Linked DNA regions of Homo sapiens: region 1 is linked to region 2. Evidence: promoter capture Hi-C in human tissues and cell types (Jung and others, 2019). All regions are on one chromosome and are shown on one strand. Each heading gives the region's core, a stretch centred on a gene start or on the middle of the fragment in contact. The rest is flanking DNA. Distances are from core to core; before and after follow the strand shown. Region 1 has its middle 350 kb from the start of PTCHD4. Region 2 holds the start of OPN5 (opsin 5).

Evidence for each region. The method cuts DNA at HindIII sites, captures the fragments that hold promoters and counts their contacts. A contact is called where the count stands out against the background at its distance.
Region 1: a fragment that was not itself captured here is called in contact with the fragment with the promoter of OPN5 in region 2 in 1 of the 25 tissues and cell types used here (dorsolateral prefrontal cortex).

What each region holds. Positions count from the first base shown.
Region 1 is chr6:48,453,291-48,460,733 of GRCh38, reverse strand. No RefSeq gene overlaps it. Among named protein-coding and RNA genes, the nearest start is that of PTCHD4, 350 kb to the right of the region's middle. The HindIII fragment of the contact is 3,819 bases long and covers 2,268-6,086 here.
Region 2 is chr6:47,776,991-47,784,296 of GRCh38, reverse strand. OPN5 (opsin 5) reads right to left here and starts at 2,265. Exons shown (of 7, transcript NM_181744.4): 1 at 2,101-2,265. The coding sequence starts at 2,230. The HindIII fragment of the contact is 6,027 bases long and covers 1-5,733 here.

The sequences.
Region 1 (7,443 bases), core at 2,928-5,427, 670 kb before region 2:
CTTGTGTATAGCAATAAATAGCTTATTTCCTAATTTCTCAGTAATGAAACAGTTGCACTGGGCAACCTTTATGTTTACCACAACTGTGAATTGAGATTTCTTTCAAAGTAGCTGTCTAATACAGTTTCAAAATTGATGTGAGTTTGCCTATTTTCCACCACTATGATCTTACGATGGCGTGAATTGATATGCCTAGAGTGAGCACAAAAGCAGTTATAATTTGTGTCTTGTTTCCTTAAAAATCTTGCCTTCACACATGAGATAGAGTAAATAAAAGCAAATAGTCATAATTTGGAATTTTAGACTTGAATATCAGACTATAACTACTACATTTATTTTATATAGAAAGAATTCCATCACATTTAATTTATTGATGTTTACTCATCAAATAAATAATAATATACCTTTAAGTTTTGTTTACTGGGAAGTTTTAGATTTGCATGGTGTCTCAGGATCATCTAATGGAAAACCTTGGTTTATATAGGTTAAATGGAAGTCTGGTAAGTGTGGTGGACCAGCCAAGACCAAATGAATAAATAGATGCCAAGCTTCAATGCCTAGAGCACTATCATTTTCACTATTCTACTTTTTCCTCTCCCATTGATTCAAGGAAATTTCCCTTGGAATTCCTTGAAGTCTCCTTACCAAAAACCTTTGGTGGAGTCTTTAAAAAACACTTGGAGGAGAGAATGGACTGGGTTATAAGGATCTAAAATCCTAGAAATTTTGTAAACTGAGAAATCTCTGCGATCATAGCCCAGCTAATTGAAAATAAAATAATTAGTAATATATGAAACATATACTAATTATACATACTAGTTAAACATATGACACAATGTATAACCTGAATTGATTACAAAGTTAAAAGATTAGATATATTTTGTTTCAATACAGACATTTGCACAAACAAGTTGTGTTAGATTGAACAGGACATTCAATTCCTCTCAATGTTAGAACATTCAATTGCAAAATGTATATATTGATGCTTATTTAGTAGCTCAATACAAAGAGCTCACTGAGATAACACTTGAGAAAGTATTTTGTTAGCTATAAACTGTTAGCAAATGTAAACTACAAATTGTGGTCTACAGAAGAATGCAACATCTAAGAATCGAAAACTAAATTATGGCTTCTGACTTTGTGACTTAAAGCTATATAACTTTACCTCTCTCACTTCCAACTTTCCAATCTTTAGAAGAAGATATGACTAACGCAGGAACAGAAAACCAAGTACTGCCTGTTCTCACTTATAAGTAGTAGTTAAATGATGAGAACATATGGGCACATAGAGGGGAACAACAGACACTGGGGTCTACTGGAGGGTGGAGGGTGGAAGGAGGGAGAGGATCAGGAAAAATTACTAATGGTTACCAGGCTTAATACCTGGGTGACAAAATAATCTGTAAACAAAACTCCATGACACAAATTTACCTATATACCAAACCTGCATATGTACCCCTGAACTTAAAAGTTACAAAAAAGATATGATTTCTCCCTCAATTTCAGAATTTTTGCTAAGTCAATGCAGCAGTATTTCAAAAAGTACACTGTACATTGAAAGATTTCCTGGAAATACTTTATAATAATTCTTCATGATAATGTTGATGATAATGACATAATGACTGATGTTCATCATGTAGAGTAATTCTCTGATATAGAAAAAGAAAATATTTCTTAATAAAACTGGTATTTTATGATATAAAAATATGTAAATAAATAAAAGTCAATCAGAAGATCCTTACACACATTTGTCCTTTAGTAACACTTAATGGATGAAGTATAGAGATGAATTCACTATTAAAATTATTCACAGTTCAGATATCTATGCTTTAATATGATATCCACCAAACATTATATAGTTTTCCTGAATTACATTCTCGATTTAATAAAAAATTTCTGTATTTATATGACTTGTTGATTTGTGTTTGTTCATTGGCTTTTTTAAAGATATTAGGATGAGCAAACATTTTTAAGCATTATTCCACATCAGTTGGTTTCCAACCATTTTTTTTTCCTGTGCACAAATTTAATATTTATTTTAAAGCATTAGCTGACTTCTCTTAAATATCTTACCATTAAAGAAGCTGAACGTTAGTTCTGTCAACAATCACTTTGTTCTCCATCTCAGAATTTTACTTTAGGAAAGAAGAAAAAATGCAGCTAGACTAAATTTGTTAGTGAACATTCAATTGGATAAATAAGATCTGTTAACATATTAGAAAACAGGCAGACTCATTGGGATATGAATACATTTTAAATTGTATTATTTACTGTGGTAAAAAGCATGACTCTTTAAATAAGTGGCAGATTTGAAATACATTAGATGCAAGCAAGCATTTTTGTATATCCAGTAAAATATAATTTGGGAATTCGTTTCCTGAAATATAATAAATTCTATTCCTTTGTGAAGTTATGATATATGTGCTGTTTATTTGACATTGCATCCAACTTAATTTGACTCTGTAGAAATCCCCAAAATTATTTATTTGTTTATATTTGTAAACTTCATCTAAGCAATAAACCAGCCCATATGGCATCCCAATAGGACCTTGAAGTGACAGTGAGACTATAAACAGAATAGATTAAATTTGCATTGTGCGTATTTGCAGTTTTAGTCTTTGCCAAAATAGAGAATTAAGTTTATTGGAACATTCTTTTATCATACTTAGCAGCTGAAAGATGAATTTGAATTTCTAGCACTTATATACAGCCTACCCTGTGAAATATAAAACTATTTCAAATAGGAAGTGGATCAAAAATTACAATTTGGTGGAGTCACAAATTACAGTTAAACAAGTTAACATTCACTCTCCAACTTAATTATTTTATCTAAATGTATTTTTATTTTAGTCTGATAATCAACGTATCTATTATTTACTTTTTATTTTACAGAGGTCTAATTTGAGTGAAAGCTAATCATGAATTTGACCTATAACCTACTTTCACATATATTATTATATGTAATCATCTAAATATTCATATGAATAAGGTAGGACATATATTACTGTTCCTATTTTCTCAAGCAAACACCGAAACTCAGATAGTTACTGATTTGTGCAAGGTGGGCAACTAACTAGGCAGAGCCCAAATACTATTCCATATCATCTGATTTCAAATCTTTTTAAATTTTTCATCTTTTCATTCTCACGGCTGCCTGTCAGTGCTCAATTATTTTCCATATAAGAATGAAGAGGGGAAGGGCAAGCAAAATAATAATAATAAAAATAATCCTATATTGGCTCTATCTACAAATTTATATTTCTCTTTTCTGTAAAATACAAGTTTCAAGAGAGAAATTTCCTCAATTGCTGCGTTTAACTGTCTTCCATATACTCTTCAAGATACTACACTCAGGTACCACTTTAGTGATTTCCTAATTACCAAATGCTTTTTTTCACCCTATTTTATGTGACTTATCTGCAGCATTTCACACCTTATCGCTCTCTTCCTCTTGAAGTTTCCTTCTCTGGCCTCTGCTTCACCACTGTTTTTGACTGTTGGTGCTTCCCCTTTGACTCTCATCAATATTCACATTGCATGTTCTCTCAATTATTTCTTGCATTTGTATGTCAACAGCTACCACCTAGAAACTAGTAACTCAGTGGCAGAAATAATTAACTAAAATTCATGATCTCTCAATCGAATACAGTGTTGTCAACTAAGATACAGGTATGCAGCTGGGTTCTTATTTCCCAGCTCTATGAGAAACACTGCCAATGTCACCTGAGTGCATACATAGTATCTTCTTGGCTTTTAACTAGATGTGGCTTCTCCAAGTACTTGTTCCTCTTAGAATGACCTTTCCACACCTCTGACTCTCATCCAACTCCATGCTGTTGGCAAATGCCTATTTGACCTTTAAGACTCAGTTTGGGGCCATCTTTCCAACGCATACTTTCATTGCCAGTAAAGCATTCTTGGGATCATCTATCTTGGTTTCTATTTCACTTTAGTAGTTGCTTGTATTATTATATTATACTATAAGCTTTTCAAAGTCAACGATCACATATTAATTAGTGTTTCATCCCCATCATCTAGAATAGTACCTGGTACATAATAAAAATTAAATACTTGTTTGTTATATCAATGAATGCTTTCCTACAGCTATTTCTGGTACCATAGTATGGACTCCCTAATGTAACCTGAGTAAAAGTGTTGTATGATTTCTTTTGCTGTCTCATACTGTCTCATTCCCCAAATTTTTTATTCCATATAAAATCATATGAGTACTTTTATCTATTAACAGTATGGGGAAGATTCTAGGAATTTGACATTTTTCAAATTACATTTTCAAAATAAGATCTACTGATTAGTGTGAATATACACTCAATGTGTGGTGGAAAATGTAGTGTAGTAAAGGAATGAAATGTCATAAATGCATCATTTCTATTTACATAAGATAACTACAATTATAGGGAACTAGGGAGGTTTTGGGTTTTTTTCCATCACTGCTTAGCACACCTCACATGTATGTTTATATGCCTTTGCCTACTTGCTTCTCAGGACATTTTCAAGAGCGATTTATGGAAGAGAGAAGTTACCATCAGGAAAGGAAGAAATTTAGCCATCCCCAGTGGGTCAAGGAAGACCCACAAAGGAAACAACTGATCATCTTGATCACTTCAACTTTGGATACATTTCTCAGTGGGTCAATTCTTATGATGCTTTTCTTTATCTTATACTGTATCTCTATATTTTATTATCTCCAAAGCATCATCATCAGCTATAATTTTTTAATAATTTGCAATGAATTTTTAACCAATTGATGCAATTAATAATTACGAAGAAAATCTACTCATTCTGTTTAGTACTAAATGTATCTATCTATATTAATTTATGCAAAAAATATGTAAGGATACTGTGCATATAAAAGTCTATTTCATAAATGCTATCGATAACTGCCTTGTTAGTAACCCATTTTTTATGAGATGACAAAGAATCCTCAGAATAAATTCTGATGGTTTCCTTATGGCAGTGTGACTTTGATATACAACAAACGCTGGGATTTATTTGAGCCTTGTGATGAGAAATGAGTTTAGATGGAACAGTTAATCTTATGTTTATCTCTTCACTACTCAGAGCTCTAGATTTTAGATGATTTATCTTGCAGCCAGTTCTAATTCCAGTTGGATGAGAATGCTCCAGGTGAATGGGAAAAAGTTTACTGCACCTCAAAGTTCAGCAGTCCATTTGTTTCATCTTGTTGCCCATTTCCTAAGTGGTTCTGTTGGACGTTATGGCTTTGGAAGCATAAATCTGTTATATAATTAGAGCTTCGTGTATCTTATGACATATATCTTCACTTTGCAGCATTGCCCCTTCAAAAGCACTCTTCCCCATCTTTTTTTAAATCGTGTTTCGGTCAAAATTCACTATTTGGTAGCTTTTCAATTGATGAGTATTTGGTGTCCCCAACAATACTGCCAAGCTTATATGAACTGTGCCTGAGGCAATCTGATAGGAATCCTGTTTACATATGTTCATACTACCTATTTTATTTTTCAGGTGAGCAATACATTCGTATTTTAATCAGATAAAATAGCTATTTGCCAAAATTGAAAAAATAACTTCAGTTTTCTATCAGTTCAATTGCATTAGATGCAAATAACAGATTAGTTTATTTAAACTGTCTAACAACGATGGCAAGTTATATGTCCATGTAAGTGTATGTCCTGAGGTAAGGCTTCAGACAAGTACAATCTTGTAGCTCAGTGATATTACCAAAAACCCTGGTTGTTTCTATCCATTTCCTCATTTTCCCCATCAATTTTGCCTTATCCTAGTGGTGGTTACCCTGAGTAGGCAAAGATAATAGTCAGAAATCTCCAGGACTACAAGTTTCCTGGTTCATCGGCAGTGAGAAAGGGATTGACAGTCTGTTCCCAGGATTTCCAGCAATCTATGAACAGTCCACCCTGAACAAAAAGACTTAGGTCTGTGTGCACAACTAAATCTACAGCTTAGGGGATTATAAAATGTGGATTGGTGTACTCTTTTGTTGCTGCATTCCTAAATCAGTAACTCTAGCCCCCGCCCCAAAAATGAAATCCAGCCCTTTGCAACAACATGGATGGAACTGATGATCATTATATTAAGTGAAATAATCCAGGCACAGAAAGATAAACTCACATGTTATCACTTATTTTGGAGATCTAAAAATCAAATGAATTGAACTCATGGACACAGAGACTAGAAGGATGGTTTTAAGAGGCTGGGAAGGGTAGTGGGGAATTGGAGGGGAAGTGGGGATGGTTAATGGGTATAAAAACTTAGAAAGAATGAGTAATACCTACTATTTGATAACACAATAGGGTGCCTATAGTCAATAATGACTTAATTGTATATTTTAAAATAACTTAAAGAATATAATTAGATTCTTTGTAACTCAAAGGAAAATGCTTGAGAGGATGGATCCCCCATTCTCCAGGATGTGCTTATTTTCCATGCATGCTTGTATCAAAACATCTTATGTATGCCAAAAATATATACACCTACTATGTACCCACAAAAAATTTTAAATATTATTTTTAAATTCTTTATTTCCATGGGTTTTGGGGAAACTGGTGGTATTTGATTACATGAATAAGTTCTTTAGTGGTGATTTGTGGGATTTTGGTACACCCATCACCCCAGCAGTATACAACGAACCCCATTTGTAGTCTTTTTTCCCTCACACCCCTCCCACCCTTTTGCCTAAGTCACCAAAATCCATGTATCGTTCTTATGCCTTTGCAACCTCAAAGCTTAGCTCCCTCTTATGAATGAGAACATATGATGATTGATTTTCCATTCCTGAGTTACTTCACTTAGAATAATAGTCTCCAGTTGCATCCAGGTTGTTGCAAATGCCATTAATTAGTTCCTTTTTATTGCTGAGTAATATTCCATGGTGCATATATATATATATATATATATATATATATACACACACACACTTTTTTTCTTTATTCACTCATTGATTGCTGGGCACTTAGTTCGGTTCCATATTTTTGCAACTGCAAATTGTGCTGCTATAAATATGCATGTGTGTTTATCTTTTTCATATAATAACTTATTTTTATTTGAGTAAATACCCAGTAGTGGAATTGCTGGATCAAATGGTAGTTCTACTTTTAGTTCTTTAAGGACTCTCCACACTGTTTTCCATAGTCTTTGTACTAGTTTACATTCCCACCAGCAGTGTAGAAGTGTTCCCTTTTCACCACAACCACACCAACATCTACTGTTTTTAATTTTTTTTTATTATGGCCATTTTTGCAAGAGTAAGGTATTGGGAACAGGCCCCCCCAAAATCTGGCCATAAACTGGCCCCAAAACTGGCCATAAACAAAATCTCTGCAGCACTGTGACATGTTCATGATGGCCATAATGCTCACGCTGGAAGGTTGTGGCTTTACTGGAATGAGGGCAAGGAATACCTGGCCCACCCAGGGCCGAAAACCA
Region 2 (7,306 bases), core at 1,016-3,515:
TGCAACATCTACACTAGCCTATTCTAGGAGAGTGAAAACCAGACACACGGCCAAGTCCAAGAAGTGGATCTAGGGTGAGTCCAAACCCCTCCAGTCGACCCCTCTCCTCACCCTGCGTGACTGTTCTCTAACATACCATTGGCTCCACCTCCTAGTGCCCTGATCCTCCTGAAGCTCCCCCTGTCCAGGGACTCTTTTTCAACCTGTTTTTCTGGCTCCATCTCAGCAAACCCACTGGAATATGATTGTGGACTTTCCTTCCAACTCCATGTGTATCAGGTGGGAAATTCTCCTGATTTCCTCACCCTGGTTGCAATCCTCCTGCAATCCTCCCTGCTTAAGATTGGGAATGGACTGATAGGCCTCTCTGTTTTGTGTTGTCTGGAGAGATTTGTCAGGTTATTGATGTTACTTTTTTAATTCATTCCTTGAAAGTGATGGAGCTATGCTAAATACAATTGATCAAGTTGCTTATTTTTCTGCCTTTTCTGTTAATTGAAAGTACTTAAGTTTAATAAAAATGCAATGTGGATTTTACAGAGATAAGACAGTTTCTGTTCCAGCAGAATGTTTGCCCATTTTATTCTCTGCTCTATTCCCAGCAACTTAAAACAGTGGCAAAGAGTGGGCGCTCAATATATATTTATGTTGAAAAGAGATGGGGACTCATTTATAAGAAACAGAATTTAAACTAGTAAAACACTAACAACAATAAAGACAAAGACCCAGGGAATCACTTTACAGCAGAATTTGGTTGAATCACATGAGTTCCTTTTGCCTCAAGTACTGACCATAGAGGGATATCAAGTATTTTCTAATGAGTTTTGCTACTTTCAGGAGGTTAAATGAAATTCTTAGCCAGTAATAAATAGATGAGAGAGGGAGAAAAAGAGAGAAAGGGAGGAAGGGAAGAAGGGTGGAAGAGAAAGATAGAAACAAAGAGAAAAGAGAGAGAGAGCAAGTTTGACCCAACATCTGAAAAAATTAAAGGCAAACAAACCTAAAGACATAACCCACCTTCACACTGGTCACCCAAAGTTAAAACAACAATTTTAAATTTAAGAAAAGTATGGTTTCTTTTCTTAAATTTAAATAGGTGGTTAAATTAAATCCTAACTGTCTAGATTAGTGCTATCCAGTATAAATGTAATGTAAGCCAGAAATGCGAGCCACATATGGATTCTAAAATTTTCTGGTAGCCACATTAAACAAAGTAAAAATTTACAAAGTAAAAATTTAATTTATAAATTTAAAATTTACAGTAAATTAATTTTAATAATATATTTTATTTAGCTTAACATACCTAAAATGTTGTATGTTCAACATGTATTTAATTTTTAAAAATTATTAATGAGATATTTTATACCACTTTTTGTTGTACTGAGCCTTCAGTATCTGGTGAGTATTTACACTACAGCAACTTTCAATTTGGAAAAGCCACATGTGGCTACTGAATGAATGAGATCATGCAGTCTAGAAGCAGGTGCACCCTTTCGTCAATTATGCACAAAAATCTTTTGACCCCGGACTTTCTTCCATTTATCACCAACACATTTTTCAACTGTCACCAAAATGGCTTAGCTATTTTGATGCGACTTTACTTTTAGGTGAAGTAAACTCAGTGTTTCTGCCATTACTATAGTACTATAGCACAATAGCACAATTGAGTTTTGCACAGTTGTGAGAACAGGAGACTGACCTAGATTATTTTTAAGGCCCATTCTCAACCTAAAACTTATGATTATGTCAAAAACATTATTTAAAAAGCACTCTGTTTAAATAAAATATCATTATCATTAATTTTGGTATTCAGAAAGTAAATCTACTCCCAAAGTAACCAAAATGAAATGGATAAATAATTTTGCTGTAAGAGTTCTTGGATTATCAATGGAATTTTATTCCTAATAATAATGATAATAAAGAGTCATTTCTAGGAAACATTTATTGAATGCCATAATGCCATTCCATCTTCTGCCTTTCCCCACTCTTCGCCTCCACTAAACTATCCACTTAAGTATCAGAATCCTTTCACAAAATTAACATATCAGCCCATGAATTTTCTAAATGCAGCCTTTGCACAGAAGAATTAAGGAAGCTTACCAATTATTGTTAGGTAAAAGCCAGCCACTAAATCCGCTTCCCAAGAAAGTTTGGAAGCAAAAGGATCCCCATCTCGAAGGTAATGGGGCAGGCGCTCGTCCTGAGGCAGGGCAGTGTGATTTAACGCCATTCTGTTCTCGAACCACGAGGGATCTGAAAAGCAAACCAGTAGAGATCTCAGCAGACCTGAATAAGCCAGCTTGAACCATTTCATAATCGTGGCTCCTGTTTTAAAACAAAAAGCAAGTTCCCAGGGTCATGCATGATTCTCTAATTAATAACTGGTAAAAATTTTAACATTTTTTTCAATGATCCAATTATGTCATTACTCAGTTATTCGGTTGGCAGATTATCCAAGCCTTCATTTTCTCCTCTGTTTTCTCATGCTACTCTTTGAGCCACTTCTTTTCTCCTTGGGGTGATTAAAAGGTTGAAGGCCAAACTGTGCAATTTACTGTTTCTTAGCAATTTTTGTAAAGGTCTGAGCAGGAAATGATATTGTATGGAGTGTGCACACATACACACACACACACTATATATATATAATTTATGTATATAAATTATATATAATATATAAAAAATTTACATATGTATATATATAACTTGTCAGAATATAGTATTTTTTGATTATCCAGATTTCCCAGAAAATCATTTCCATTGTACATTCAATGAGGTTTAGAGTTTTGTAAGGAAAGAAATAGAGCATTCAGTACAAAGGAACATGGACACTTAATTAATTGAAGCTAAGAGCTAGGTGATTGTCAAAGTGATCTTGAAATTTGGAGCTATTTAGAAAGGATTCAAGCTGGGTTGTAACTCACAGGCACATCCACAGGAAGGTTTGTTTCTCAAGTTTCCTAGAGCAGAAAGCAATTTCATTATTTCTCACCACTGCCCCAAATCCATACTTTCTATTTGCTCATTTATGCTTCTGGATGAAATCTTGAGCATTGAGGAATTTCTCAGATACACAGGTCTTAGTACTGTTTCTTTTGAATTGGAGTTTTAAAAGGTTTACACAAAGTCTTTGATGGGCTTTCTGCAAAAATAAAAGTCACATGATATCCCTCATCCTGAAACTTGGAGTCGTGTGTTGTTCTTCAGATAAAGTATGCTGCTGATGTTAAAACTTCCTTTGGAAGGGTCATTCCTTTGTCATGATTGTTCCTATTTGTTTTGAAAGGGGAAGAAATACTAGTGTGGCTGTTTCTCTTTTGAACTTGCCTATTTCAAATCGAACCAACAGATGTCACTGTTCAGCTCTCTAGGCAACAATTTCGGGCATTATATGAGACAGCAAGTGGAACACAGAGTTGTGTGCCCCACAGGCGGTGACAGGGTGATCGGCACATATCTAACCATGTAATTCACCTTCGCAAAAGACATGAATTTAACCCCTTTCTAACTGCCAACTTACAGCTTACAGAGGAAGGCTAGTGACCCTTTCAGTGGCCAGTTGGCTGAAACTACAGTCTCCTACACACAGTTTGAGGACAGTCATGTGCTAATGTTCATTCCAAATCCTTCTCCCTGAGATGGTTAGAAAGCTGTAGGAGAAATCTTTGGCTGCCAGATGCACCACATCCCAAGACCTACCCCAGGTGAAAGTTTATCTTTACCTTTCAAACTCCTGATTCCCCTTTGACTGCCTCTTGTTCTGGTAAACTCTCTCCTCCCCAAAGATTGCCCCCGCCCAACTGGCTGTCCAGTCCTGTCCTCCACCTTAGCTTCAGAATCATAAGATGAAGGTTGGAGTCCAGCTGTGATACCCACCCTCTGATCTTGAGCAAATCATTTAAACTTTCTGAACTGCAACCACTTCATCTGTAAAATGGGCAGTCTCCTTCTTACCTGTCACTCATGCTTGTTGTAGGAGCAATAGGATATCGGACTCGAAAGCATATTATGAATGGGGGGTCCTGTATATTTATTATATGCTGAGATGCTTACTTTTCCCAAACTTGCCTATCCATCAAGATATAGCTATTGTATAAGAGATTTCCTCAGGGTCCCATGCTGAATCAATGGATGCTTGTGTGTTAACTCAAGTATTCACTGAACATCTACTACAAACCCAGCATTATGAGGTAGGACAACAGAGGTTTACCATGTTATCTAGACTTAGGGAGGGTATCTATCATTTTCTGGACAGAGAAAAGATGCAACTAATGGTCAGAAAATATAATAATAATACAAGAATATAAAACAATAAAATGCTGCTTTACTTGGTTTTAGAGAATTTTTTTGAGATAGGGTCTCACTCTGTTGCCCAGGCTGGAGTGCAGCGATGTGATCAGTGCTCACTGCATCCTCGACCTCCTAGGCTCAGGTGATCCTCCCAACTTAGCCTCCCGACTAGCTGGGACCATGGCACACGCCACAACACCTAGCTAATTTTTTTTATTATTATTATTTGTAGAGACAGTATCTCTCTATGGTTCCCAGGCTGATCTCAAACTCCCGTCCTGGGGTCAAGGGCTCCTCCCACTTTAGCCTCCCAAAGTCCTGGGATTACAAGTGTGAGCCACTGAACCTGGCCTAGACAATAATTTTTAAAGCAAGGAAATAATACTATTTTCTGAGGAATTAACTAGACTGTGTGTGTAATATCAAGAAGTGTCCTTCCTATATCGAGAAGTACCCAGGCCTTGCACAGCCTAAGACTCGATATGTTAATAATGAAAATGATAACATAAAACTTCACTTGAGCCCCCAAGGGGCTTTAATAAGCAACGAAAACAGTAGAGAATATTTTCAGTAAGAAAATGACATGAGCTAAGATTTGGAGGAAAAAATGAACATAAAGTGTATAAGGGATGGAAAAAGAGTTGTTCCATGGGAACAGAGTTCATCATGGAGAGAAGTGGTAGCCATCTTGGCTTGGTAAAATGGGATCTTGTCCTGTAGAGCCTTGCCTGCCTGGCAGAAGAGTTGCTTTTGACATATCATAGGTGGACTTATTTTTTTTCTGACACTGATCAAAATTAATGCTATTGTTTAAGTTTGGAAATACAGTGTTTGAGAGTTTCTAGTTCTTTTCAAAGACACAACTTAGACACAACTCTTCCTGAGGAACACTGCGAGAAAGAGGCAGAGAATCCTAAATACATGGTTATTTGGGAATTCTTTTTTTTTCCACTCTTCTTTATACATTACAAACTCATTTTTCAACTTCACACTTTACACTTATTTTCCCCATATGTAATTTGTGTTCCATTTCTTCTCAGTCTATCCAAATTCCACTTGACCTTCAAGCTTTTATCCAAAGTCTACATCCTTCAGAATATAAAACTGGCTCCTTCAGTCACTACTAAAATACTCCTAGGAGAAATTAATCCACTTAATTTACCTAATTCTTCCTCTGGTTTACCTACACATGAGTAAAATAACTTTCAGTTCATAAAGAAATTAGAGGTACCAGTGCATAGTATGGGATCATTATCATTATTTTGTTGAGGTGCTATTTCATCATTGATACAGAATTATACTTTTTGCTGAAAACAGGCTATAGCAATGCAACCATCATAAATATTTTTGCAGAACACTAACTGTACTACTTAAAATAATAAATGCAACACATAGTCATGACTGAATTTGTTCAGAGATATGTTTTAGAGAGTTTCTTTTTCAGTATTGAATGTGCCTGAATTACCTCATTGTGTAAATAAAATAGTCATTTGTCGATTCCTTCCCTCTTTTACCTCCTGTATTTGAAGATTGCCTACCGCCCATAGTAGATAGATGCTGTCCTATCTACCTTCCCAGGTGGTCAGGGCCCTCAACACCACATCCCCCAGTTCCCTGGGATGGCATCCTATGATCAAACCAATGGTTCCCAATCAGCTGCATATCTGAATCTCTTATGTACTTATTTTTTATTTTTTGTATATTGTTATTGTTGTATTTTGTATTGTAGCTATTCTTTAGGTACTGTAGTCTGGGTACAACTTCCAGGGTCTATGATATTATTTCCAAGAGGATCAGTTTGTCGAATTTTGTAACCATGGAAGCTTGCCTTTCTTGCACAATATTTCATGGCACTATTGCTTGGGAAACAACATATGGGGGTTGGAGGAAAGTATCCTGTTTAAAAGTGGAGGAGAAACTAAATGACTTGTCAAAATTTCTGCTGAATTTATGATTCTGTGAAAGATATAAATGAAACTTCTTGGAGTAAGTTGTATGTGATTATTCATGTTAGCATAATCCTTTAAGCCATAAAATATACTCCACTGCTCTCACATCTGCTAATCAATGGTCTTTTGGACCATGAATAAATCTTCCTAAGACTGTTCTCATAACAGCTTATTATGGAAAAAGCTGAAAACATCTCCACTCTTCATCACCCATAAAAGTTTTAAATATCTTTTGAGTTACCAGAATTAGCCATTTAAAATCCTGTATTATTCCACAATGAAAAATTAAAGAATATCTTTAGATGTAGCCAGAAGTCCTCATGTCCAAATTGAATGGACTTACAAATAGGTATAAGCAAATACGGAAGAGAGAATGGCACAGGTTCCCCTCCTAACAGGAAATAAACACAAGTTCGTACCAAGAAACAGAGTCCAACTCTGTTAGACTCTATCTAGTCTTAAAATTATCTTCAAAAAATATTTGGCAATAAATTTCCCCTTGACCTGCTAAATTTTCCCTGGTTTAATGCAGGAAATACCAAAAAGCATGGGCAGTGTGGAGAGCCACTTATGCAAGGTGAAAGTGACCTGCCCAAAATGGTCTTCTCCACTGGCCTGCTCTGGCTTCTGAAACTTTTGCCATTTTTTGCCTGAAGCATCATCACCACGAAATTTCTTTCTAGGGATATACTATCTGAGAACATGAAATTTGAATCTACCGGAATCCATGAAAACTTCAACATAAAGTAGTTTCTGAAATTAGTTACTTGAAACCTAGTAGAAGCCAGCAGACCTCAAAATAGGTGTAAGATGGTGCAGAGTAAGTTGGAAACAAACATCGAAGGCCAGGAAATGTTCAGGAAGTTAACAAAGAAACACCCACGAACTAGAGAGATGTCCAAGAAAGGTAAGCAGATAATATTCAATATCTCGAGGTAAAATGTGCTCAGTGTTAAGCCTGATAAAATGTAAGTAAGGAAACATAGTTTATTAAAAATTCAGAAATCCTTTAGCTGGTTTACACAGGTCTTTAACAAGTGGGTGATTGCCCATTTCCACTACTGTTCAAA